7 separate regions of the Homo sapiens genome follow, and all the other regions are linked to region 5. The links are contacts of gene promoters, found by promoter capture Hi-C in human tissues and cell types (Jung and others, 2019). All regions are on one chromosome and are shown on one strand. Each heading gives the region's core, a stretch centred on a gene start or on the middle of the fragment in contact. The rest is flanking DNA. Distances are from core to core; before and after follow the strand shown. Region 1 overlaps SYT1 (synaptotagmin 1). Region 2 has its middle 36 kb from the start of OTOGL. Region 3 overlaps OTOGL (otogelin like). Region 4 has its middle 56 kb from the start of OTOGL. Region 5 holds the start of PAWR (pro-apoptotic WT1 regulator). Region 6 overlaps OTOGL (otogelin like). Region 7 has its middle 56 kb from the start of PPP1R12A-AS1.

What was found. Contacts are between HindIII fragments. The study calls those that stand out against the background at their distance.
Region 1: a contact is called between a fragment that was not itself captured here and the fragment with the promoter of PAWR in region 5, in 2 of the 25 tissues and cell types used here (bladder and mesendoderm cells).
Region 2: a fragment that was not itself captured here is called in contact with the fragment with the promoter of PAWR in region 5 in 2 of the 25 tissues and cell types used here (adrenal gland and mesendoderm cells).
Region 3: a contact is called between a fragment that was not itself captured here and the fragment with the promoter of PAWR in region 5, in 2 of the 25 tissues and cell types used here (mesendoderm cells and thymus).
Region 4: a contact is called between a fragment that was not itself captured here and the fragment with the promoter of PAWR in region 5, in 4 of the 25 tissues and cell types used here (H1 embryonic stem cells, IMR-90 fibroblasts, aorta and 1 more).
Region 6: a fragment that was not itself captured here is called in contact with the fragment with the promoter of PAWR in region 5 in 2 of the 25 tissues and cell types used here (IMR-90 fibroblasts and aorta).
Region 7: a contact is called between a fragment that was not itself captured here and the fragment with the promoter of PAWR in region 5, in 1 of the 25 tissues and cell types used here (H1 embryonic stem cells).

The regions. Positions count from the first base shown.
Region 1 is chr12:79,383,764-79,387,476 of GRCh38, forward strand. All of the region lies in intron 9 of SYT1 (synaptotagmin 1), which reads left to right. Among named protein-coding and RNA genes, the nearest start is that of MIR1252, 34 kb to the right of the region's middle. The HindIII fragment of the contact is 4,110 bases long and covers 1-3,713 here.
Region 2 is chr12:80,061,547-80,065,211 of GRCh38, forward strand. No RefSeq gene overlaps it. Among named protein-coding and RNA genes, the nearest start is that of OTOGL, 36 kb to the right of the region's middle. The HindIII fragment of the contact is 5,744 bases long and covers 1-3,665 here.
Region 3 is chr12:80,120,000-80,123,402 of GRCh38, forward strand. The region is part of intron 1 of OTOGL (otogelin like); the gene reads left to right. Among named protein-coding and RNA genes, the nearest start is that of OTOGL, 22 kb to the left of the region's middle. The HindIII fragment of the contact is 4,573 bases long and covers 1-3,403 here.
Region 4 is chr12:80,041,464-80,044,996 of GRCh38, forward strand. No RefSeq gene overlaps it. Among named protein-coding and RNA genes, the nearest start is that of OTOGL, 56 kb to the right of the region's middle. The HindIII fragment of the contact is 9,563 bases long and covers 1-3,533 here.
Region 5 is chr12:79,688,708-79,692,401 of GRCh38, forward strand. PAWR (pro-apoptotic WT1 regulator) reads right to left here and starts at 2,257. Exons shown (of 7, transcript NM_002583.4): 1 at 2,165-2,257; 2 at 1,022-1,684. The coding sequence starts at 1,537. It overlaps PPP1R12A-AS2 (PPP1R12A antisense RNA 2), which reads left to right and starts at 1,325. Exons shown (of 7, transcript NR_187531.1): 1 at 1,325-1,689. RefSeq lists silencers at 965-1,484, 2,255-2,554. The HindIII fragment of the contact is 10,737 bases long and covers 1-3,694 here.
Region 6 is chr12:80,162,856-80,166,717 of GRCh38, forward strand. The region is part of intron 1 of OTOGL (otogelin like); the gene reads left to right. Among named protein-coding and RNA genes, the nearest start is that of OTOGL, 65 kb to the left of the region's middle. The HindIII fragment of the contact is 4,487 bases long and covers 320-3,862 here.
Region 7 is chr12:79,989,860-79,993,516 of GRCh38, forward strand. No RefSeq gene overlaps it. Among named protein-coding and RNA genes, the nearest start is that of PPP1R12A-AS1, 56 kb to the left of the region's middle. The HindIII fragment of the contact is 5,137 bases long and covers 1-3,657 here.

The sequences.
Region 1 (3,713 bases), core at 441-2,940, 310 kb before region 5:
TGTTCACATTGCATTTCAGTTCTTCATCATGTAAAGCACTTGGGCCTTTCTAAAAGATGCAAATCACTCTTTATTATTTTGATGAGCTAACAAGATGAATTCATCTCTAGAACACTATAAAAACTAAATTGTGAAAAATGGCGCCAACCATATAACCTGTCCTTGATCATACCTATTATTTGGTAACTCTGTGGGGAAACTAGAATCTTTTAGAAGTATTATTTGTGTCCTAACTATTTAAGTGGATGATTTACCCTCCTCTAGGAAACTTAATATTGAGAGTAGGCTGAGAGGTGATCACGTTAATCTGGAAAATTTTTCATAAATTAAGGAAATTGAGTTTAATAGTTACAGCAAATTCTCCACATGCATCATGTTTCTGTACTGAGTGCTGAACTATACAATAAACAAGGAACTGAAAACAAGCTTTGAAAATATCCAGCAGATTCAAGTATTGCTATTTGGCCTAACAACCTCTTAAACATATGCTCATTTGCAACTGCAAATATAAAAGCTTTTGTGTAAAAGGCTTTATATTTTATACACAAAATATAAAAAATTTTGTAAGATTAGATTTATATGCCAAAAAGAATCTTTCATATATATAATTCTGTAATTCTTAGATATCAAAAACAAGACTATTTGAACAGTTTAGTATTAAAATAAGTGACAACTTACATTACTTATGAGGGCACGTAATCAGAGTGGCTGTACCTGAACTAGGTACAAAAATGCTTAATACTCAGCTTAACACTAGCATGTAAAATGTATGTGAATTCAGCAAAACATATTTTAAATGACTTTACATTCCATTGCTATGTATGTTATAGACACAAAGTTATGGCACTGAGATGAATCACTACTTTTGACAAACATTTTTTGACACTCTCACCTGGGAGATCCGGAGCACCATCCACTGACAGCCAAAATGATCTAAATTTATAGTTCCATTGTTTCAAGGCTTGAATAGAAGCATAGCAGAAAACAAGAATGAAAGCTGATTTTCTATTGTTGGCCGATGTGAAAAAACGTCATCACTTATTATATGATAGGTTTGGTTGGCTTTCTCCTGAGTTACGTAAGATGTTATGTTCCTGATCTGTTTATGTATGGGTGTTTAATACCCAAATCTTTGAATTATTGTTAGATTATTTACTATCTTTTGCTAGTAGTTATTCCCACCAAGCAATTTATAATAAGCAGCTAATGGAAGGGACCACTGGATTTTTTTTTTTTTTTTTTTGAGACAGTCTCACTCTGTCACCCAGGCTGGAGTGCAATGGCATGATCTCAGCTCACTGCAACCTCCGCCTCCTAGATTCAAGTGATTCTCCTGCCTCAGCCTCTCTAGTAGTTGGGATTACAGGCACCCACCACCATGCCCAGCTAATTCTTGTGTTTTTGGTAGAGACAGGGTTTCACCATGTTGGCCAGGCTGGTCTTGAACTCCTGCCCTCAAGTGATCTGCCAGCCTCGGCCTCCCAAAGTGTCGGGATTACAGGCATGAGCCACTGCTTCTGGGCAGGACCACTGGATTTCCATATGGAAAAAACTACTATCAAAAAAAGATTTTTTTTTCCAAACTCTACATAGATAAGGATTGTATAATCAGTTACTGGAAATGCATTCTTAGGATTGTTTGCATAATTTATTTTCTATGTATTTGTGGATGCTCAATCAAGCTTTATGTATATTCATTGATTTTTTTCAAATCTGATTGCCCTAGTTATGCGTGTTTATTCCCCCCAAAATTGTCAGCCACAATTAAAATTAAAATTATGATACCAAACTTACTGGTGGTAGCATGCTATAATTTATAATTCAAGATGGTATCAGAGCCACATTATATACTAAACTGGTTTTGTATATGCAGTTTATCATAGGATTTAGAACAAATCAGTGTATTAGGCCAGAGTTACCAACTGAAGGGAGCATCAACCAACTGTGGTTATACAATTACCCATTGTTGTTGTTGTTGTTGTTGTTTTTTAATTCAGGAAAATGTGTTGTATATGAATATACTAAATAAAGGAAATAAAGCTATTAATAGAATGTGCCACTGGTGTCTTAGGTGAAAACATACACCAAGATTCATAACTCCCCTAAAATTGTTATTGTCAGTTAGCTGGATAAAGTGGTCTATGACTAAGTTAAAAAGCTAGAAAAATCTTGTAGTCAAAAGGAAAACAAACTTTGTTATGTATACTCAGGCTGGCCCACAGAAGGTGGTGCATGGCAGTGCTGGTGAATATCATTGCTGCAGTCTCTAATACTGCTGCAGTGCTGCCTAGCTGCTACTTTAAACCAACACTGGCTCATCTGGGGCCTTGAATTACCCCTTAAAGGTTGTATGGTGCATTACCCTGCTATTTTAAAATTACTTTAAACCATTCCTAAAGAAAGGTACCACATCCTTCTCCAGAGAAGAAGTTATTAGATTCTTTACAAAAACACATATTTATTTAAATAATAAATTTCCAACAAAAAATTCACAATTATAAGATTCCTTTGAAAATTACCAGGGTTTTCCCCAAATACATTTTTGGGTTTTTTTTTTTCCTTCCTTAGTATTCATTAGTTTTCTTTTTTCTTTTTCTTTTTTTTATACTTTAAGTTCTGGGGTACATGTGCACAACGTGCAGGTTTGTTACATAGGTATACACATGCCATGGTGGTTTGCTGCACCCATCAACCCATCATCTACATTAGGTATTTCTCTTAATGCTATCCCTCTCCTAGCCCCCCAACCCCCACAGACCCTGGTGTGTGATGTTCCCCTCCCTGTGTCCATGTGTTCTCATTTTTCAACTCCCACTTACTAGTTTTCTATTGTATGAACTATCTTCCATGCTTATTTTGCTTTTATTAAAAATAAGAAATCTGTATTCCTGGTATTCCCTGGTGTTTCGATCTTTTACACACCTATTAGAACCATAATTTCTGTAACATCATAACGCTTTTCAAAACGTCTCAGTGCCTGTTCCTGAAGTTATTAGTTTCCAAGTCTCCTCAATGCCTAGCCTCGTGCATCCATGGGTCTGTAGTTGCGCCTATAGCATTCTCATTGCTACTTCAGTTTCCCTGTGACCTCCTACTTCACTTCTCTACGGGTGTGCACTCTCCTTATCTTTCTTGCTTTCTCTCTCAACGTTAAATTCACATATATGAAAGACATTCTATGGGAAGAATAACCTACTCCAGCATTTAATAGAGCCATTCTAAACATATCTGACATAGAGATGTCCGCCTGTCACCTGCCTATTCAGGAAATGAGCTTGAGATTGGAGATAGATATATTATTGCAAACCACAATCAAGGCTAATATCTTAACCTGATTTTATCCTAATTTATCTCTGTTTATCTTCATTTTCAGCATTTCTGCTCTTTCTACCCTCTCTTACCCACCTTGTAATCTTCAAATACTATATCTAACTGATACCCTTCATAAAGGGAATATTTTTGCACATATTATGCACTTTCAGTTGAAGAGACAGTAACCCTCCAAGACAGCAATGGCCCAGAAAAGAGACTAGAAATGTAGTGATAATTCATAAGTCAACATCTGCCTCTCTTTTCTACCTTAGCCAAGTTTAATGCAGAGGGCATTACACTTAGTTCTAGTCTCAAGTCTACCATAATTAGAACCATAATCATGGGCAAATCATTTAACTTGTCTGGGCATCAATCTCTCAATGAAAAAACTAAGCTATTTG
Region 2 (3,665 bases), core at 87-2,586, 370 kb after region 5:
AAACTTATCCCAGATCAGTCTAACCATCTGTCTTCTCTCTACACCTGGGATCTTAAAAATACTTATAAAAAGTGTTATAAGAACAGCTCAGAGATGCAAAGTTCTGCCAGAGATCACATAAGCTTGTGGGTTGGTGCTATGACAGCCATGGTTCACAGCACAGCTGGGACCTCAACACTACTTGGCAATATTTATTTATTTACATACATATTTTTAATTGACAGAGAAAAATTGTGCATATTTGTTGTGTACAACATGTTGTTTTAAAATAAGTACCCTAATGCTAATGGTTAATTAAGCTAATTAACATATGCATTACCTCACATCCTTTTTTTTGTTGTGGGAACACTTAAAATGTACTCCCAGCAATTTTTAAGAATATAATACATTGTTATTAGCTATAGTCACTATGTTGTACAATAGATTTCTTGAATGTATTCTTCCTATCTGAAATTTTATTCTTTGACCAGCATCTCGCCAGCCACCCCACCTTTCCAAGCCACTGGCAACCACCATTCCATTCTCTACTTCTCTACTTCTGTGAGTTCAAGTTTCTTAGATTCCACACATAAGGGAGATCATGTGGCATTTGTCCCTCTTGTGCCTGGCCTATTTCACTTGACATCATGTCCTTCAGGTTCATCCGTGCTGTTGCAAATGCCAGGATTTCCTTCTTTTTTAAAGCTGAATTGTATTGTGTATACATACCACATTTTCTGTCCATTCATCCATTGATGGACACCTAGATTGATTCCATACCCTGGCCATTGTGAACAACGCTGCAATGAACATGAGAGTGCAGACACTGGCAATATTTTTTGTTTTCTGGTTAGGGTGTCTCCCATTCCCTCAATATTTATCTATTTTGTGAAAATCTCATTATGCCCTCTATCCTGCCAATTCTGTCTTCACTCTTAGTGTATGAGGTTGCCTTTTTCTTCACTGAGAAAACTGAAACCATCTGGTAAGAATGCCCTGCAACATCCTTTCTACCTGCCTACTTGGCTCAGCATCTGCACTCATCCTTTCTTCTTTTCCTCTGGGCACACAAGAAGACATGTGCTTCTCCCTTCTCAAGATAACTCTATGTTGCGTTTTGTTTTTTTTTTCGTCACCTCCTTTTGGACCTTGCTTTGTCAATCTGCTTTTCTTCTGCATTATCAATCTCTTGAAAGACATCTCAATTTCTTCACCTTTCATTCACACCTTAACTTGCTACAACTTGACTTCTGCCCCAACTCAAATTGATCTGCTCAGCAAAGCTCACCAATGGCTTCTATATTGCCAGATCTTTTTTCTGATCTTCATTGACCCCTCTTCAGCACTTGACATTGTTAAGGGCTTTTGCTTTGAAGTGGTCTTCTTCCTTATATGATTTGCCATGAGCCTTCTCTCTGATGACCTTTCTACTCTAGCTTTCAGGTTGTTTTATTTTATAGCTCACCGATGAAGACTCATTCTGCCTCATGACGTGCACTAACTAATAATAATAACTCACATTTATTGAATGCTGATGTTGTGCCAGGCTCATTGGCTTATGAAATTATAATAACTCTTTGAGGTAGGTGCTATAATTATCCTTGTTTACAAATTGGAAAGTTGAGGCTAAGAAAGGTTATTTAATTTGCTCAGGGCTATGCAGCTAGTAAGACATGGAGTCAGGCTGGAATCCAGAGTCTGCTTTATATGACTTTAAGTAATGAAAGTATAATACACAACAGAAAAGTGGACAAATGCTAGAAAAGAACCTGATGAACCTTCACAAGGCAAACATGCTTGTGTAGCCAGTATGCAGATGGAAGAGCAGAATGTTCTCAGCTCTCCAGAAACCCCCTCATATCATCACGGCACTTCACAAAAGAGCAATCAATATTCAGAGTCTAACACTACAGGTTAGCTTTGCCTGTTTTCAACTTTATATAAATAGGATCATAGAATCATACAGCATATATGTAAGATTAATTTATTTAGTGGTGAAAAGAAAAGCTCATTTATTGTTATTATATTTTAGAACATCATTGTGTAGATACACCACTATTTATCTGTCCTGTTCTTGAATTGATGTTTGGGTTGTTTCCTGTATTTTTTCTACTGCAAATAGTGCTATGAATATTCTTGTACACATTTTCTGATGGACAGTGTATGAGTGGAGTTGCTGGGTCATGGGTCATGCCTATACTGGTTTTAGAAGTGCTGCCAAATGATTTTCATAATTGATTTTGTCCTAAGGATTGAATATTTCAGATATTATATACCCAGAATAAATCCGTTATCTCCCCAGTAGAATAAAAAGGTTTCTCTTTTTTATTGCTTATATCTCCCACCTGTGCTCTTCATCCAAAATTTATTTTTATATGTATGGAGGGTACTTTTATTCATTTCATACTCAACATGTATTATTACATTGATCAAAATCTTTACTGCATTCACTCCAAAAATAGAATCTTGACCGGAGTGAAATTCTTTTCAAGTATGCTTTATTCTCTTCTTTCTTTATCCAGATGCCACAGGCACATTTGTTAGGAGTTCTTACATTGTAATGTTGCTCTTCATGTGGCTGCCTTTCATTTATGTATGCTGAAACATTGTTCATGAACATTGACATGGTAGTCAAAGATGTCATAGTCATACCCTTTTGTTAAAAATTTTTTCCTGGGGTGGGAGGGAGACACACGACTTTGCTTCAATATTGCCACAGCAAGCAATTACTGTTGCACAGTGCTGTAATTGTTATTCCTAGTTGGACCAGCTGACTCAAACCCTAGAAAACCATGTGTGATAGAATATATACTGCCAACCCAGTAGTTTTCTGTAAAGGAAGCCCATTGTGAAGACTAATTTTCCACTGTAGACTTTTGAATAAAGTCTCTCTTCATTCTTTGAGAGATTCCTCTATCCCACAGATATGCATAAGTTAAAGTCTTGCATTACTCAGCTGAAATGTTATGTGAACATATGCAAGCAAAAAGTCTCCAAATAATGTCCTCATGTGTTTGGCGGACTTGTATTTACTTCTTGATTGCATCACTCATATGCTCTAGCTATCTCTTCTACCATTTTATCCGCTGGGGATAACACTTACCCTGTCATCCATTCCCACTGTTAATGTTTATCAACGAAGAGAACAAAATAATCTATATTTTGTTCTTCTTCCATGAAATACCCTGTTTTTTAAATATATGTAATATTAAGCAGTTTATTAGTACATACTCTGGAAATACATAGCTCATGATCTTCAAAGCATTAGGGAAAAAATCTTTTGTTGAGAATGAACGCTTTAATTTAATATAGGGGCATTGTGGTATAATACAGTGGTGGCTGACATTCAGAGTTCCAGAAATTATTTTTCTACAGAAGTAATGTGGAAAATATGACTAGAAGTGAAATCACTTTCCACCTTTTAAAACTGAGCATAATTATCCACATTTACTGTTATCCACAAACTGGTAAGAAATAAAAAATCTCCTAAATTGATTTTAAGTGTGACTGATTAATATTCTTTAAATGTTACAATACTGGATCAAGACAGCCAGAACTGGCAAAAAAGCAAGAGTTATGCTTTAACGATGTTTATTTTACTCTAGTTTGAATTACTTGTGTCTGATGTTCAATCCCAGGAAGTCTGCTGTTTTCCTTTTGCATGTTGTGATAGGTGTCTAATAATA
Region 3 (3,403 bases), core at 479-2,978, 430 kb after region 5:
TCTCTTAGAAAGCAATAGTTCAATTCTTTTGATCTTATTAAATGAAGCTCTTTAGACTTTTTACCATTTTTTTTTTCTGGAGTAGCAGAGTTTGAATATGCTGGTTATCTTTGAGCTTGTGTCTTTAGCTTGATTATTTCACCACAACATTTGGCCAATCATAGGATGGGGTAGCTGGGGTGATAGATTTCTAATTTTCTTCTTCTTAACATCTTTTTTCAGATAATGCAAAAAGATGTGTGCCAAGTTATATCAAAGCAACTGCAAGATTTACTGACATAATGACAACAAATATCATTTAATTAGAGTTTCTAAGTATGCCAGGCACTATGCTGAATCCTAGCTGGGTTATTTTATTTAATATTCATCACATTCACCTTGTGAATGACAGCATAAAGGATTAAAAAAAAGTTACATACCTGTTGTTATATAATTAGCAAGCAGCAACACATAAAAGATTTAAACTCAACTCTGATTCTTGAGCCCAGATTTTTCCACTACTTCCAGTATTTCCTATACTTGAATAATGTGCAAACTTCTTGAAAAAAAATCCTAAGGATTCTCTCTCATTGGAGGATCTCTCCAAAAATCCAAGTATGAGAAATACTGATTTAAGAAATTAAAGTTTTAACCTATGGAAATGCCTTTCAATATGAATATTGCTACACAAGAGAAGTTTTAGATTTTTAATGCGGTAAGCTGACTTGTTAAAAGATTCCCTCGATATAAAAACACAAACTATACAAATCTCACCTCTTCATGAATTTGTCTGCAGAGTTGGGTTTATAGGCAGTGACAGAACCCAGGGACTATCTCTACCCCTGTAGTAGACACTATGGAGCATAGTCCAGATCCTGCTTTCAGAACAAAGACCCTTATTCCCCTGAGAACCAGAAGTGTCCAGTGCTGAGAGTTCACAACTGATTCCTTCCCCAAGAAATTCTTTTGGCTGAGCAAGTTTATAACCCATTCTTGGAGGCAGCATATTTCCTATGACTAGTTATTTAGGGTAGGGTGTGTGGAGGGACAAAGGCCGAGCTCCTTGCTTCAATTCAGCTCAGGTCTGAGGGGATATTCAAGCTTCAGAGAACTGTGTGAGAAGGGCTGAGGCCTCTGTTACAACTGCCTTGGAGGTCAACCTCTCCCTCTGCCCTGTCCTGCTTTCCTCACTCCTTTACAAGCATTATTGCTGAGAATACTTCATAATAAACCACCTGTTTGTGAATATCTGGCTCAGGAACAAGGAGACTCATGACAATCTCTAAAGCCACCTCAAGGAAACACTAAATAAAAACAGAACGATTTCTATGTGTATGCAGCTTAAGACAAGACTACAAAGGCTACCTTTCAAGCAGACCGTTGCCTCCTCAGCTCCTCCTTCAGATATTTTGGAGAAAAAACACAAGAACTTTTGACTCTAACACACTGCAAGTATAGACATTAAGTATCTGCAACAACTTCCTCATCCTTAGACACCATTATATAGAAGTCTCTAATCCCTCCCTAGAGCAGAGAGTCTATATAACACAAACTGGATTCATACAGTTTAGACAAAATCAACCACCCCACGAAACAAAACAAAATAAAAAACCAAACCATAATAGCAGTTTTGATTATCTTGTTTGGTTTTCTAATTGGCCAAGTAAATAGAAAAATTGACACTAAAACACTTCTCTTCGTATCATGTAGATTGTCTAAAATTAAAATGTAATATTTAGGCTAACACAGCTTAACTGACATTATGAGGATGGTAGAATCATTTAAACCCATAGTGGGAGGTTCTTCGTGGGTTTATGTGGGACTACTGGCCAATCCTTTTATCCTTTAGTAATCTTAAGCAGGAACAATTTGTATTGAGTTCCAGTAATTGGAGGTGTGCCTGAGTTGCTGAGGAGTAAGAATGCAAGAAATGCACAGAGAAATGCACAGTGACACACACTTATAATTTGTACTTTATTTCAGAACATGATGTTGTAAACACGAGAAAGAGATGAGTGCAAAATCATCATATGGCCAATATAAATAATTCAAGCACCAAATCCATCTGAGGCTCAAACTGTCTCATTTGAATCATTTTTGATTAAGAAAAATACCACAAAAAATGAACAATTGCCAAATCCATCCTTTTCAAAACTTTGAGTTGTTTAACTAACTAAAAAGAAAAAAAAGTACTTGAGATCACAGTTAGAATTAATATACATATATACCTCTACCTTCTGAACTTAGTTCTAGGATAAAATTCCAATGTATAAGCAAAAAAAGAAATAAATACACTGTCACATCAAGATCAAAATAATTTTAAGTGTCCCTGTGTTTCCTTTATGCAACCATTATGACATACTGGAATAATCAATGAAAGACAAAAATAATTGTTCTTTTTCATTTAACTGTGCTATGGCAAAAAGAAAATGAGACTAGCAGTCAGGGAAGAAGTTAGGAATAAGATGCAATACAAGATACTTTGTATCATTAATTATTAGTATTATTATAGAAATGAAGAGGAAAACTCTTATCTGGTTAAGTTGTGGCAGCTGAGAAAAAATCCAGATGTAAATTCAGAAGATAATTTCTTTTCATAGTCTTTACTGACTATGTTTATAGAAGTAAATGTCAAGGTAAGCTTGGCAAGAAGCAAAAGAAATGAGGCACATTTCTCTAGTGTCATTCCCCAGATGCTGTCTTTTACCTTTCTGAGTATGCACGAGTCTGACACTGGGTTTCTGCTTCTTTATGGAAACAGTATGCAAACACTCAAATAACAGCAGGATAGTCATTTTTCATATATGCTTTGTTTTCATTTCTATGACTTGGAAAGACCAAGTTTCCAAATGCAGAAATCTATGCAGTTGCTCTGCAAGTTGAGTCCTTGCTTGCACTCTGGATTTTATTTTTATTTTTTTATTTTTATTTTTTATTTTTTCTCCCTCTTGCTCACTTTCCCTGGAGTCCAGAGCCTGAACCAGGCTCCAGGTAAGAGGACAGAGTGAATGCCTTTTGTTTCATTAACATTTTCCTTCACCTGGTGATTTCTTTTCTTTTTTTTTTTAATTATACTTTAAGTTTTAGGGTACATGTGCACAACGTGCAGATTTGTTACATATGTATACATGTGCCATGCTGGTGTGCTGCACCCAATAACTCATCATTTAACATTAGGTATATCTCCTAATGCTATCCCTCCCCCTTCCCCCACCCCACAACAGGCCCCAGTGTGTGATATTCCCCTTCCTGTGTCCATGTGTTCTCCTTGTTCAATTCCCACCTATGAGTGAGAACATGTGGTGTTTGGGTTTTTGTCCTTGCGATAGTTTGCTGAGAATGATGGTTTCCAGCATCATCCATGTTTGTACAAAGGACATGAACTCATCATTTTTTAAGGCTGTGTAGTATTCTATGGTGTATA
Region 4 (3,533 bases), core at 621-3,120, 350 kb after region 5:
ATAAAGTTGTTTACACATTTAGTGAGTTAATGTATTTAAAGCTGTTCACATAACAAGTGAGATATATATATAATGTTAATGATTCTTATAATTACATTATTCAATTGTAACAGAGATTAACTAGAAGCCTTATCACAATGCCTTCTTCGCTGTAAACACTCTGTCTAGCTCTACACTGGCAGTTAGCATATCACTCCGATTAATTTTAATAAGGTAACACTTTTGCTGTGTTATACTTGTACTAAAACACCTTCAGTAGCTGCCTATCACCTGTAGATAATCATACTCCTTAGGCCATCTCTGCCCGAATCATTCTAGTCTATTTTCCAGGATTGCCTCACATGACCACTTCACTTAGTTAAACAATTTTCTCATCATTCATTATCTGTCAAGAACTGTGAACAGTCTGAGATTTTACCTCATTTATAAGCTAAAAAATTAGCCTTCTACAGTTTCGGGTTGCTGGCATTAGACACAGAATTCCTGAGTCATTACTCGTGGTGCAGCAATCAGTATGAAACTTCATTTTTGCACTGGTTACCTTTGCTTTCCGAGTCATATGGAGGGGGATACTAAGGGGCCCAAGTGGTTGCATGCAGTGGGTTTGTGTGATAGCTGGGGACCTACAAGCTTAGAGTATCTGACATTCTTTGCTAGTAAACCAAAATACAATAGTGGTAGTTTCATAATGCTTAGTTGCAATGTAGAATCTGAAACCATATTTGTTACTGTGATGGATTAAAATCCATTGGTGTATATTGAATTTTGAACGAACCTTTCACCCATATATGATTTTGTAACCAAATGCACTGGTCATCTAGAAAATATTGGTTCCCCAAGTTATGTAGAACTTCCAAATGTTGACACATTTCAATATATAATACAAAAAAATCATATTTGTTAAGATTTCCAATATTCTAATTTTTCTAATATCTGAATTAGTATGAATATTATCCTTTTCTAACATTCTCTGAAAAAATGGCTACTTCTACTTACAATTCAAACACCTACACAATTGCTTTTCTTTGAGACAAGGACTGTTTCAGTAGATCAGAAGAGCTTTATGTGTACTTTCTATTTCATCTCACAGAATATTTAAAAGGTATGTACTCAAGAGTCAATATTTTGAAAAATTCATATATTTTACTACTTCATCAAAGATATTCTTTAGTGAATCTGGCTTCTTAGAATTTAAACTGGGAGTGTATGGTGGTGAAGAATAAAATTCTAGTATAGTTTGCTTCTACTATTCTATTCATGCTAAGTTGTCAGCAGTTTTATCACCCATTGTTTTTTGCACCATTAGTGCAAAGGTCAACACAGTAAAAAAGCCAGATAATATCTTAGTATTGTTATGAAAATAATTTTGATCTTGTGAACTCCTGAAAGGGTCTCAAAAATTCTTAGATGTCCTTGGATCATACTTTGAGAACTGCTGTATTAAGGAGGCCTGTTAGGAGGCTGTTATAAGAGGATATTGATAAGGAACTGTACATATAATGTAGAGCATGAAAGAAAAGGAATTTGATAAATTGAGTACTGTCTTAGTCTGTTTGGGCTGCTATAACAAAATCCCATAAGCTAGATAGCTTACAAACAGCAGAAATTTATGCCTCACAGTTGTGGAGGCTGAGAAGTCCATGATCAAGACATGAGTCTATTCAGTGTCTGGTGAGGACATGTTTCCTGGTGCATAGAGGGCCCCTTCATGCTATGTCCTCACATGGTAGAAGGGCAAGACAGCTCTTTGGAGTCTCTTCTGTAAAGGCACGAATCCCATTAATGAGGATTCACTCTCATGACTTAATCACCTTCCAGAAGGCCTCACTTTTTTTGGATTAATTAATCAGTATTAATGAACAAAATATTAATGACATCCCCTTCTCCGTCCCTGTGGATCAAGGCAAGAAGGGCCATTTGCCGACACAGATACCAGGAGGTGGAAAGCTGCAGCAGTTTTGAGCAGAAGGCCTCACTTTCTAATACCATTTCCTTGGGGTTAAGATTTCAACACAAGAATTTTGGGACGACACGACCATTCAGAGTAGAAAGCACATTGTTTCTAAGTTATGTGTGGAAAGTTCAGGTACAGATGTCTAGCAGCCATTATAAAATATGAGATTGAATATAGAGAATTACAACTTAATGATCTGCATTGGGGAGGCATCCACACACAGGTGACAGGTTGAAGACATGGGAGTGTGCACAGCATACTGGTCTAGGTCATGGTCTGTCTTGGTTTAAACTCTAGTTATGCCACCTTCTTAACCAATTTGTGACTTGGTTTCCTCATCTGGAAAATGGGTAAAATAATAGTATCCACCTCAAAGCGTTGTTACAAAGATTAAATGAGTTAATATTTGTAATGTGGTTATAACAGATCTTGGCACATAGTAATCTATATATCTGTCTAGATCTGAATGTAATTGTACTATACAAATGAAATACAAAAATGGGAATAAATGGAGATTTCTCTGGGAGAATACTGAGGGAGAAGAGAAGAGGGCTGAGAATTGGGGCAACCAATGTTTAAGAGAAAAGCAAAAGAAAAGAAGCCAGTGAAGGAGACAGAGTGATGAGGGAGGCAGGGAAAAGCTCCAGAGTGGTGTCCTGGCAGCCTAGGAGAAGTTTGCCACATTGCAGACTTCAGGCAGGAATGTAAACTTTGAGATGGCGGGTGCTGCATTTACTTTGTTCTCTGCTGAATCCTCTGGACTTAGCACAGTGCCTGATATATAGCAGGTGTCCAGTAAATATTTGGCAAATGAAAATGCCAAAGAGAAGTTGGAAAGATAAGGGCCTGAATATGTTTATTTATATTTAACAAAAATAGGTCAGTTGGGGACTTAGGCCTCCCTATATAGTGCCATACTAACGTCAGAACTTGATGTTAAAATATTCTGAGACGGAGTTTCGCTTTTGTTGCCCAGGCTGGAGAGCAATGGCGTGATCTCAGCTCACAGCAACCTCTGCCTCCCCGGTTCAAGCGATTCTCCTGCCTCAGCCTCCCAAGTAGCCGGGATTACAGGCATGCGCCACCACACCTGGCTAATTTTGTATTTATTTATTTATTTATTTATTTATTTATTTATTTATTTATTTATAGAGATGGAGTTTCTCCATGTTGGTCAGGCTGGTCTCAAACTCCCGACCTCAGGTGATCCGCCTGCCTCAGCCTCCCAAAGTGCTGAGATTACAGGCATGAGCCACTGCACCCAGCCCTAAAATATTCGTAACTTATGAGTTAACCCTTACAGCTATTGCCTGTTATTACCATGGTTTCATTATAATTTTGTGCAACTGGCCCCAAAGTCTCTTTTTTAAAATAACTGCTTTCTGCCTATGATCACAGGCATATTTTTAGCCTTTTTCTAAATGCCAAAATTAGTCATTAGATAGAAGAATTGGTCATCAACCAGGCCACTGGATGACTCAAGATTCCATCATTTGACCTCATATTGAAAATATGAAGACCAGAGTTTGACAAGCAACACTGCAGCAGTGTTTTCTGCTTTCCATTATTACTGTACAGG
Region 5 (3,694 bases), core at 1,007-3,506:
TTATTGCAAATGCTTCTACTTAAACCACAATTAAAGTTGAGTAAAATTAGAAAGCCAGGAGAAGAAAAAGTGAAAGCTAAACAGTCAATGAGAAAAAGATGCAACTATTTTAGGTGAAACAAGGTAGTTGAACCACTTCCTCAAATCCATGAGCTACTATCAAAGTAATCAAAACTTGTTTGAGATTGTTTTGTCTTGTTTCTGGTAGAGGGAGGTGTGATTATACACTTAGTAAAAATGTTTTACCAGTCACTCTAATGGAAGATGCTGCTACCTGTAACGTTTCGAAAATGCTCCAAACTGCAAACAACCCAAAACAAACAAAAACCCTACCACATGTTTTTCAGACACAGTACTCAAAAAGAGATCGTCTTAGCGAACAGAATTGTGGGTTACTAAATCATCCCTATTGTCCTAAGTATCACTCAGAAAAACACTGTGTGTTTAGGAGCACAACTTATAAACAGCTGATTTATATATAAAATAGTGCACGTATTCATTTGGATATACTCATCTTGAGCTCACTGTAAGATAAAGCTGTCTTGGATATTGCTAAGGCAACATTTTCTTTACAGATGTTATTAAACATTGGTAAGAAAGGAGAAATAAACTGGTAACTTCACATGGGCACGTGAGACCCTAGAGAATGTCGTCACCATTAATCAATTTTTCTAACTGATCAAGCATAAACAGCCAAGTCCAGGTGGCCAAGTCAGCCAAGTCCAGGTGGGCAAGTCCTGGAGCCATAAGTTGTCTTTCTACCACGGTAAAAAAGGATCCTGGATCTGAGACCTGGCCAGGAAGCCTGAAAAGCACGTGTCCTACTCTGAGTTTGGGGAACTTCCCAGGAAGCATTTGTTCAGAGTAAAACTCCATCACCCCCTGCCTGCCTAACTCGGTGAAGGGACAAGTACGAGCCAGGGGAGGTAAACTCTGCGCCCCGGGTAGCTCCCAGGAGGAAGACACCGGGAGGCAGCTGCCCGCCCCGGCCCGGTCCGGCTGCGGCCCCCGCCCGGCTCACCTCTGCGGCAGGGATGTTGACCACGCCGGTGGAGCGCCGCTTCTCCCGCAGCTTCCTCTTCTCGATCTGCCCCTTGCCTTTCCTGGCACTGGGGCCCGAGCTCTTGCCCTTCTCTGGGACGCCGTCCGGCTCCTCCTCGTCACGCTGGGGCGGCGGTGCAGCCGAGGCAGAGGCGGCTGGGGGCTCGTCCTCCGACCGCCGCGGGCCGGGGGCCGCCCGCGTCAGCATGGCGGAGCCGACCGCGCAGTTCACGCCCCCGGGACCGGGGACGGCAGGTGCGGCCGGCGCGCCGCCCGGGAGGTTGTTGTTGAGCTCGTTGGCAGCGGCGGCCGCCGGGGTGCCCAGAGCCCCCGCGGGGGGCTTCCCAGCGGCGTCGCTGCTGCCCCCTCCCGGGGGGGCCGGGCCCGGGGGGTTCTGCTTGGCGCGCATCTTCTCGCGTTTCGCCTTCCACTCCTCCAGGAAGTCTGTGGTGCTGCCGCCGAGGCCGCTGCTGGTCCGGTAGCCACCGGTCGCCATATTCCCAAAGGGGCCGGTCGGGCTCTCACCTCAGGCCGCCCACCAGGGCTCCGGCCGCTGCCTCCTCTTCCTTCCTGCGGCCCCGAGGATGCCAGGAGACGACCTCCAGGAGAGGGACGGCCGCCGCTCCCACAGCAGCCGGCGGGGCTGAGGTGAAAGACAAAAGGGGGCGGGTAAGGGAAGCGTAAGATCCCCGCCCGACCCAAGGGTCTGCCCCCGGGCTGCGCCCCTTGGAGTCCTCGAGCGCGCCCACCAGTCACTACCGGCCAGCAGCCGCCGGGTCCCCACCCTGCAAAGTTTCTCCCACGCACCTACAGTACGGACCCCGACGATCGCCGCCCCTAGAAGGGAGGAGAGAGGACTGACCCCACCCCCAAGTCGGCCCGCCCGCCCCATCCCCACCAAGGTCCGCGCCGGCGGCGGTCGAGATACTAGGGCTAGACCCGCCACCTGTCGGCTCGTCGTATCGCCTGCTCCGCGCTCTAGCCACCGCCGGTCCGAGGTCCCCGTCAGCTACAACCCCACTCCCAAGGCGAGGCGCGGAGCTCCTAGCCGGTTCGCAGAGGAGGCGGGGACCCAGCTGTCCCGCCGAGCGTGGAAAGGACCGGGTGTGAGCGAGCGCCTTACCTTGGAGGAGCTTGTAGGGGACGAGGCGTAGGGCTGGGATCCGGCTCCCAGGTGTGCCGAAGCTGGCGCGCGCTCTTCCGCCGCGCGGAAAGTGCCGCGGCAAACTCGCGGTGCGGAGCTCCAGGCAATCCCAGGACAGGAGGGAGGGAGAAGAAGGAGGGAGGGAGGGAGGGAGGGAGCCAGGGGCGGGAAGGGAGCCGAGCGGCGCCGAAGCACGAGCGGAAAAGGCCGAGGCGGCGCGCGAGGGGCGCGGCGCGCGGTGGGAAGGGTCGTGGCCGCTGACGCCCCGCCCCCGGCGCTCAGGTGCGCGGCGTCGCGTCCGGCCCGCCGCTGCAGCCTGCCCTGCGCCAGCCGTCCTCTGCCCCGCTCCCGCCGCAGACCACAGCGCGCCCGCCGCGCTCCGCCCGCGGCCTGCGAGTTAGACGGCACATTCCTGGGCTAGCAGCTTCGCGGCGTCCGGCCTCCCGGCGCCTCCGACTCCGGGGCGGGAACGGCACTCCACGCCCTTCTTGCTTGTCTTCTCCGCCTCTCTCTTCTCCCACCACTCTTCCTTTTAAGTACAAGACCGTATTATTTGAGAGAAAGTCTCGAACGCTGCTGGCTAAGGGGAAAAGTGCGATAACTTGTGATGATTCAGGGAATGACTAGACAGGATGGGAAAATACCCACGTGTCTCTTTTCCTAGTCGCTGCTCCCTTTTCAGATGTACTAGGGCAGCGGGCAGGAGAATAGAAAGACCTGAGACAAACCCAGCACCCTCCTTCTAAGAAAACTGCGGTGCCCTGGTGAAAAGGGTTGGCTAAGAGGAAGGACTTACTAGTATCTTAGGGTTGCGGGAGAAAAAACTCAGTTCGACAGTTTATTGTATTGGCGATTCCAGTCTTGGAGTTTTCCCCTTAACCCTGTCTCTGCCTCTCCTCTTTACAGAGAATGAATTTAGCAGCAAAGCTCCCTACCAAAGTACTAACGCTGCACTGATGCTAATTTGAGATGAGCTGGGGCAGTGATTGTCTCTATTTTTTCATTATTAACATGCCAGAGGCTTATCCTCTGATGCAAGTCATCTGAAATTTCTGGATCAGAGCGGGGTGGGCTGTCACTGACGCACCTAAGACTGACCTTTCTATATCCAAGTAATGTCAGGGCACATCATTGTGGGAGGCTACAAATGCCAGGTCTCCATTTTGTAAAAAAGTAGGAGAGCCCTAAGTCACGCTCTTACCTAACATAAACCTTTCTTCCTACTTAATATTCCTGTTTTGCCCAGGTAGCACATGATGAGTGAGCAATCAGTGTTTGCCTGCCACAGAACTGGGAACAGAAGAAAGTGATTCACATGCTCTATATTTCTCAGGGAAAGACAGTTTTGGTCTTTGGTCTGGCTGTTGTGGGAAACGTATGGCGAGAGCTCTGGAAAAATCCTTAGAAAATTAAAAGCTTTTGTTGGGAATAGGTCTAAAAGGCTGAGCGGCTGTTTACCTAAGCTAGTACCAACCCCAGTGTGCCACCTGAAGTTTCTCAATTACATAT
Region 6 (3,862 bases), core at 1,313-3,812, 470 kb after region 5:
TATAGGTGTGTTCATATGACTCATGCACCCCTTGCCCCCACTGCTGAGAATGTGGGATGGAACTCCTGGATGATAGGCTGACACAGACAGTTCTTTCAAGGAGGAAAATTAATAATCAATGGAAAGATGATGATTTGTTCACTGGGTCCTCTTTACTATTAGACTAAAGATATTCTTTCCAAAAAAATGGAGCCTGGATACATCATAATTATCTATCTGTCAGTAAAAGCAATAACTTTTTAAAAAAAATTCCAGGAGAGTTTTTATTTTATTTATTTGTCATAATTAACTTTTATTTAACTTAATTATAAGTTGCTGATGATAGGGCATTGTCTTATGCCCAACATACAGTTGTTCTTATGCCCAACATATTGTAAGTTTATTAAATAAGTGAAATAATGAACAAATAGTTTATGAGATTCTGTTGTATACCATTGCATTATCATTTGGAGAGAAGAAAGAGAAAGAGGAAACAAATAGTGGAATGACAGAATCCTCTCTGTAAATAAAATAAAAATAAAAATTATAGAATATCAGAATTTGGAGACCATTGTAGGAGAAATTCAGTCTCCCTTTTCACAATGGAGAATTGATGTTCAAGCAGATCAACGTTTCTGAGATCATAGGGGTAGTTAGTATCAGGCTTAGGAATAATATGGCATAGTGGAGGCACTTTGAAATCAGAGTTTTTATTGCTGCCATTTTTTATACAGGCATTATTTAGATCTGCAGGTCAATTAAGGATTGGCTGATCTCAGCTGGGCTCAGCTGGGTGACTGTTAATGTCATCTAGGCTCTCTCGTGTCCTCTCAGTTGATCTAGGCTGGCCTTGGCTGGGGTGATTTGGCTTTGTCCTTCATGTCTTTCATTTTTCTTTTGGGATCAATGGGCCCAGTTGGGTATGTTTTTATGGCAATGACAGAGGAGCAAGAGAGCAAGCCCAACTGTTGCAAGCATTTTCCAAGCTTTTAGTTATGCTATGTTGCTAATATTCCATTGGTAAAGTCAAAGGGCTGAGCCCAAGGTAAAGGAGAAGGATATACTCTCATTCTTCAATGGGAGAAACAATGAAGTCACATGACAAAGGCCACAGATAAAAGGGGAGGCTATGAAGAATTGAGGCCAATAATCTACCACAAATGATGAAAGATGGGGACTGAGAGATAGAAGGTGGGAATTTATAAGATGTGTGCTTTTCCCCTCAAGAATAGGGTACCCAAAATCTTGGCTCTACTGTGTAACTTTGTGAAAATTGGCTATCTAGCTTCAGTTTCTTCACCTATAAGCAGAGATTAACGATATCTATATTGTTGTATAATTGTGAAGAATATGGAGATGTTAGTTATAAAACTTCATCATGTAGTATATTTTGAATTTGTTAGATTCCTTTCCTCTTCTCCTTCAAGGTACTATTTCAGGGTATACATACCTAAAAAACTAGAAGACCATTACAAAGCAAATAATTTTGGGTGTTTGTTTAAATGTTTGTGCTGTTTACCAGTGAAGCCACCTTGTCCTCTAGTCTTCTTTGGTGGGAGGTTCTGATTAGAATTCAGTCTCTTTCCTTGTTATAAGTCTGTTCAAATGTTCTATTTCTTCTTGTGTCAGTTATTGTAGTTTGTGTTTTACTAGGAATTTGTTTCATCTAAGCTTCTGAATTTGTTGACATATAATTGCTCATAGTATTGTCTTATAATCCTTTTATTTCTCTAAGGTAGGTAATAATGGCCACATGTTCATTTCTGACTGTTTCATGGCTTTTGATGTACCCTGAGTCTTCTAATCCATTGCAGTCATTATCCTTGTTGATGTTGTATTAACGCATCCCTGTTCAGTGAGACTGTCAGGCTGGCTCCTGTATCTGGGTGACACCACTTCATGAGCCCATGGCAGCGTCTTTGATCTGTGAGACACTGAGATGACCCAGTGTACTAGTTCATTCTCACACTGCTATAAAGACATACCTGATGCTTGGTAATTTATAAAGAAAAGAGGTTTAATTGGCTCATGGTTCTGCAAATATATACATAATGATTTATTGTGCATTACTGATTGTGCATTAATGTAGAGGAGGAAAAAAGGGGAAATTTCTTGGTATGAAGAGGATATTCAACAAAGATGAATGGACAGGAATAGAGAGGGTATTCCAAGGATAGAAGGGGACTGGCATAAAATAAAATGAGGAAATGGTGTTGAAATAAATAAAATCAGAAAATAGTCTCATGATAGCGCTTTCTCCCTGTGTGGGATACTAGAGTAGGAGGCATGTGCTAAATGGGTCTTGAAAAAATTTGCAAGATATTTCTTGTCTTATGTCTGTCCAGTACTTTTTCTTCTCCTAGGATTCTTTAGAGATTTGTAAAACTGGAAAGAAGATCTAAAGAGATTGAAATGACATGTGCTTTGCTTCTCTCCTATTTTCTGATCTTTTCCATTTATTCTAATCTTTGCTGTGGACATATATACCATTGTGTTCTTTATTCATTAAGCATTTATCATGGGCCAACTATGTGCAAAGTATTATATCTGATTTGAGGTGATGAGTTAGTGGTTGTGGGATGTGTGTACAGAGATATATGACAAAGGTTTCTGCTGTCTGGAAACTGGATATTCTCAAGTTGTTCCTTCCACCCACCTGCAGTAATTTACATTCTTCTTTCTTGCACTATCTACTTTGCTTTTTATCTCAGGCTGACCTCTATGAAAAGGATCAACTGAGCTCTGTTTCTTCTGTCTTCCATTTGAGTTTAGTTGATTGGATGCACCAGTAAGGGGGAAGAGAGTTTGATTCCTGCCCTGCGGGCCTGAGGTTTGGCAGTGGCTGGATTTATACAAGTCACAGATCCCATCCAGCACCCAGACCTTTCCTACAGCTACAGCTACAGCTGCCCTGAGTTCTGGTAACTGCTCCTTCTCTTACCCCTTTAGGCCTAAATGTAGTAATAGCTTCCACTGTTGCCAGTCCTGAGGTGCTTCATCAATAGTTGTTGGTTTCCCTTAATCCCATCCATACATTTGTACATAGTCCCTTCACTAATCCTTCTTCAGTTACTCCTTCTGATTGTGCCATCTGTGTTCTGTCAGGACCCTGGCTGATACACCTTCCTGCTGTAAAGCCAATATGTGAATTGAGAGACAGATGGTGGTAATGTGCTTTCCTTCTGAGTACAAGATTTGCTGGATTAGTGATACCCAATTTTTAAATATATATTTTCATACATTTTCCTTTTTGTTTGCAAGATGCTTTTTATTGTTGCTATTTGTCTTCTCTGAGATATTAAAGATAGCATGTACAGTGTAGTATAGTAGCTTTTCCTTTCCTCTCTCCCTCCCTTCTTCCTCTCTCTCTCTCTCTCCCTCCTTTCCTCCCTCTCTTCCCTTTCTTTCATTCTTTCTTTGTTTCTACATATTTTATTTTAAATATGACAATATACATACACACATGCATACATATTTAAAATTCACCTTCTACATTATTAGACAAGCTCTTCCTCTAAATGCTGATTTTTCACAAATTATTTTCATTTGTGTAATCTAAGTCATAAATCTAAGTCTTGCTCTTATTTTCAAAGATGTAGCTCTTTTTGCCAAGTAAACCATATTGTCCTTTCTCTCTTTTCACCTTCTTCACTGGAATTCACGTGAATGAATAAATGTCTATTCTATTTGGCCTCTCTTTCAAAAGATTTGATAAATACCTAACTTCTGAAAGCCCCAAAGAAGTAAGTTCATTTCCATTCCAAAGATAAACAGGCTCAGAGATTTACTCTGCTCCATAAAATTAACAAATATATAAATTGTAGATAAGGAATTGGAATTTCTGTTTCTGATTCCAAATTCCATATATCTCACTATATTTACT
Region 7 (3,657 bases), core at 175-2,674, 300 kb after region 5:
AGAGAGTTTGCTAATCCTTGGCCTAAACCAAGCTTCTTGAACAATCTGTAATGAAAGATTAGTTAAAAACTTAAAAAATTATTGTAGACATGTTTTCTAGCTTTTTATAAAAATGAGTTTTTAGAAAAACAAACAAAAAAATCAAACATACAAAATACAAGCTCAGAATACTATGTCAAATTGTTTTACAAGTTTCTAAATACTTAATCTAGTTTCTGTATTTATCTCCTGGATGATGAGTAATAAATAGTTCGCAGACAAGCACCCGTGAGCTTTGAGACCACACTGTGAGTAGTGCTAGCCTAGAAGTTAAGACAGAAATCAAGCAAATAATAACACTAATAATTATCCTAGATCAAATTTTACTAATAGCTATGATAAAAAATCATAAAGTGATATGCGGCTGAATTTTAGGGGAGACCAAGACAGGGTTTTATGAAGGGATGAACTTTGAGCTGAGATTATAGAGTGAATGTGAATTAACCAGACACAAAGTGTGTCTTTGCTGGGGTCTGATGATGTTAAAAGAACAACCATGGCAATGGAAATACATGTGCAAAAGCCCTAGGTGGGAATGAGGCAGGAGAACAGGGTCTAGAGGCAGGGAACCTAAGGCTGTTTCTTGCCGACTTCCTAGAACTAAAAAGAAAGGAAAACCCTAACTTTCCATGCCTAAGTAACAAAAGGACCAGAGGCTACTCCCTTTGCAAACCCCCCATCTTTTCTGGGCGGCCGATGGGAAATTGGCTGTCGGCAACAAATCATACTGCCAGTCTTCGTTTGCAACTTTGTAACTTCACTCCAGCCTCTGAATGGTTGCTGTCCACAACCAGTCAGACTGATTGCGGGCGGAGTCTTTGTTTGCATAGAGGTATAACTTTGTAACTCACCTTAGCCTCTGATTGGTTGCAAAAAGCAATGTTTGCACAGGAGTGTGAACTTTATAATTTCACTTCAGCCTCTGGTTGGCTGCTTTCTGCAACCAATCAGACTGATTGCGGGCTACCACTTCATTTACATGAGGTGAGTATGAAGTGGCCAATGGGAAACTTCTAGTGGGTATTTGGACCCAAGAAGATTCTGTATCCTGGCCCTTGAGCAGCTGTTGGGGCCCCTCCCACACTGTGGAGCGTACTTTCATTTTCAATACATCTCTGCTTTTGTTCTTTTGTTGCTTCATTCTTTCTTTGCTTTGCTGGGCGTTTTGTCCAGTTCTTTGTTCAAAACGCCAACAACTTGGAAAACTTGCAGTCAAGACCCTCTACTGGTGACAGGCAGAAACTTACTATGTGTCTGTAACTGTTTTAAACACTTTATGTATATTTCTCCTTTAATACCCTCTTCAGTCTATAAGGTCATTATCATCATCTCACTCATGCTTTTCATCATAAATTAAGCAATTCATTAACATGCCCTTTTTATCATCTATTTTATATATGAGAAACCTGAGGAGTAGAGATGTGAAATAACTTATTCAAAATCACTTAGATGGCTAGTGAGGCATAGAGTTGGAATTGGTTTCCAGGGGTATTTGATATCACAGTCTGTGCTTTCATCCATTGTGCTATGCAAGTATCATTTTTAATCATAATAACCCATGATTTCAACCCTGGAGGCATTTGCCTCTAGTTTCCAGCAATCCTAAACAACTATCTTAATTTTACTGTCTTCCTTGGCAAAGCTAGAACATATAATTAGCTTTATCAAATTTCCAACAATTTCCACATAAGTGGAGAACCAGGCTAGTCAATGAAGACTAGAATTAGGTGCCACAGCCTTTGGTAGCACCTAGTAGAAGAGGTATATGGCTTGTATCAGAATTAGGTTTATCTGTGAGTAATAGAAACCCTAAATGACACTTGCTTCAAGACTCTAACTTGTTTCTTTATTATGTAAACCTCCCCAGACGAGAGCTTATCCAGAGCTGTATTCCAGGAAGTCACCAAGGCCCGTATCTTGTGTTCTGACATCTGTAGCAAGCCATCTCATAATCCAAGATGACTGGACACTGTATTCATTTCTCAGGGCTGCTGTAATAAAGTCCTACAGACCAGGTGCAGTGGCTCACACATGTAATCACATCACAGCACTTTGGGAGGCCAAGGCGGGAGGATCACCTGAACCCAGGAGTTTGAGACCAGCCTGGGCAACCTAAGGTGACCCCTATCTCTACAAAAAAAGATTTTTAGGCCAGGAGTGGTGGCTCATGCCTGTAATCCCAGCACTTTGGGACACCAAGATGGGGGAATTGCTTGAGGTCAGGAGTTTGAGACCCATCTGGTCAACATAGTGAGACCCATCTCTATTTTTTTTAAAAATATAAACATATATTTATATATACTATATGATTATATGTAATATATATTATGTATTAAATGATATATAATATATACTATATAATATATATGTTAAATATGTATACCTTTAGCCAGGCATGATGGTGCACACCTGTACTCCCAGCTACTCAGGAGGCTGAGGTGGGAGGATCAGTTGAGCCTGGGAGACTGAGGCTGCAGTGAGCTATGATCACGCCACTGTACTCCAGCCTGAGTGACAGAGTGAGACTCTGACTCTAAATAAATACAGTGCTACAAGCTAGGTGGTTTAAAATAACAGAAATTTGTTATCGTAGCTCTGGAGGCTGAAAGTTCAATGGTAATGTGTCCGGAATTGGTGGATTCTTGGTCTCACTGACTTCAAGAATGAAGCCACGTACCCTCGCGGTGAGTGTTACAGTTCTTAAAGACGGCCTGTCCGGAGTTTGTTCCTTCTGATGTTCGGGTGTGTTGGGAGTTTCTTCCTGCTGGTGGGTTCATGGTCTCCCTGGCTCAGGAGTGAAGCTGCAAACCTTCGCAGTGAGCGTTACAGCTCTTAAGGCGGGGCCTCTAGGAGTTGTTCTTTCTTCCCGGTGGGTTTGTGGTCTCCCTGGCTTCAGGAGTCAAGCTGAAGCTTCAGACCTTTGCAGTGAGTGTTACCGCTCATAAAGTCAGGGTGGACCCAGAAAGCAAGCAGCAACAAGATTTATTGCAAAGTGCGAAAGAACAAAGCTCCCACCCAGAGGAAGGAGACCCAAGGGTTGCCACTGCTGGCTCCAGCAGCCTGCTTTTATTCTCTCATCTGGCACCGCCCCCCCCCCCCCATCCTGCTGATTGGCCCATTTTACAGAGAGCTCATTGGTCTGTTTTACAGAGAGCGGATTTGTCCGTTTTGACAGGGTGCTGATTGGTGTATTTACAATCCCCTAGCTAGACATAAAGGTTCTCCAAGTCCCCACTAGACTCAGGAGCCCAGCTGGCTTCACCCAGTGGATCCTGCACAGGGGTCACAGGTGGGGAGCTGCCTGCCAGTCCCGCACCATGCGGCCACACTCCTCAGCCCTTGGGTGGTCGATGGCACCGGATGCCGTGGAGCAGGGGGCGGCGCTTGTCGGGGAGGCTCAGGCGGCGCAGGAGCCCACGGCGGGGAGAGGGGGGAGATTCAGGCAGGGCTGCAGGTACAGAGCCGTTCCCCGCCGGGAGGCAGCTAAGGCCCAGCGAGAAATTGAGTGCAGCGCCGGTGGGCCAGTACTGCTGGGGGACCCGGCGCCCCCTCCGCAGCTGCTGGCCCGGGTGCTAAGCCCCTCATTGCCTGGGGCCGGCAGGGCCCGCCGGCCGCTCC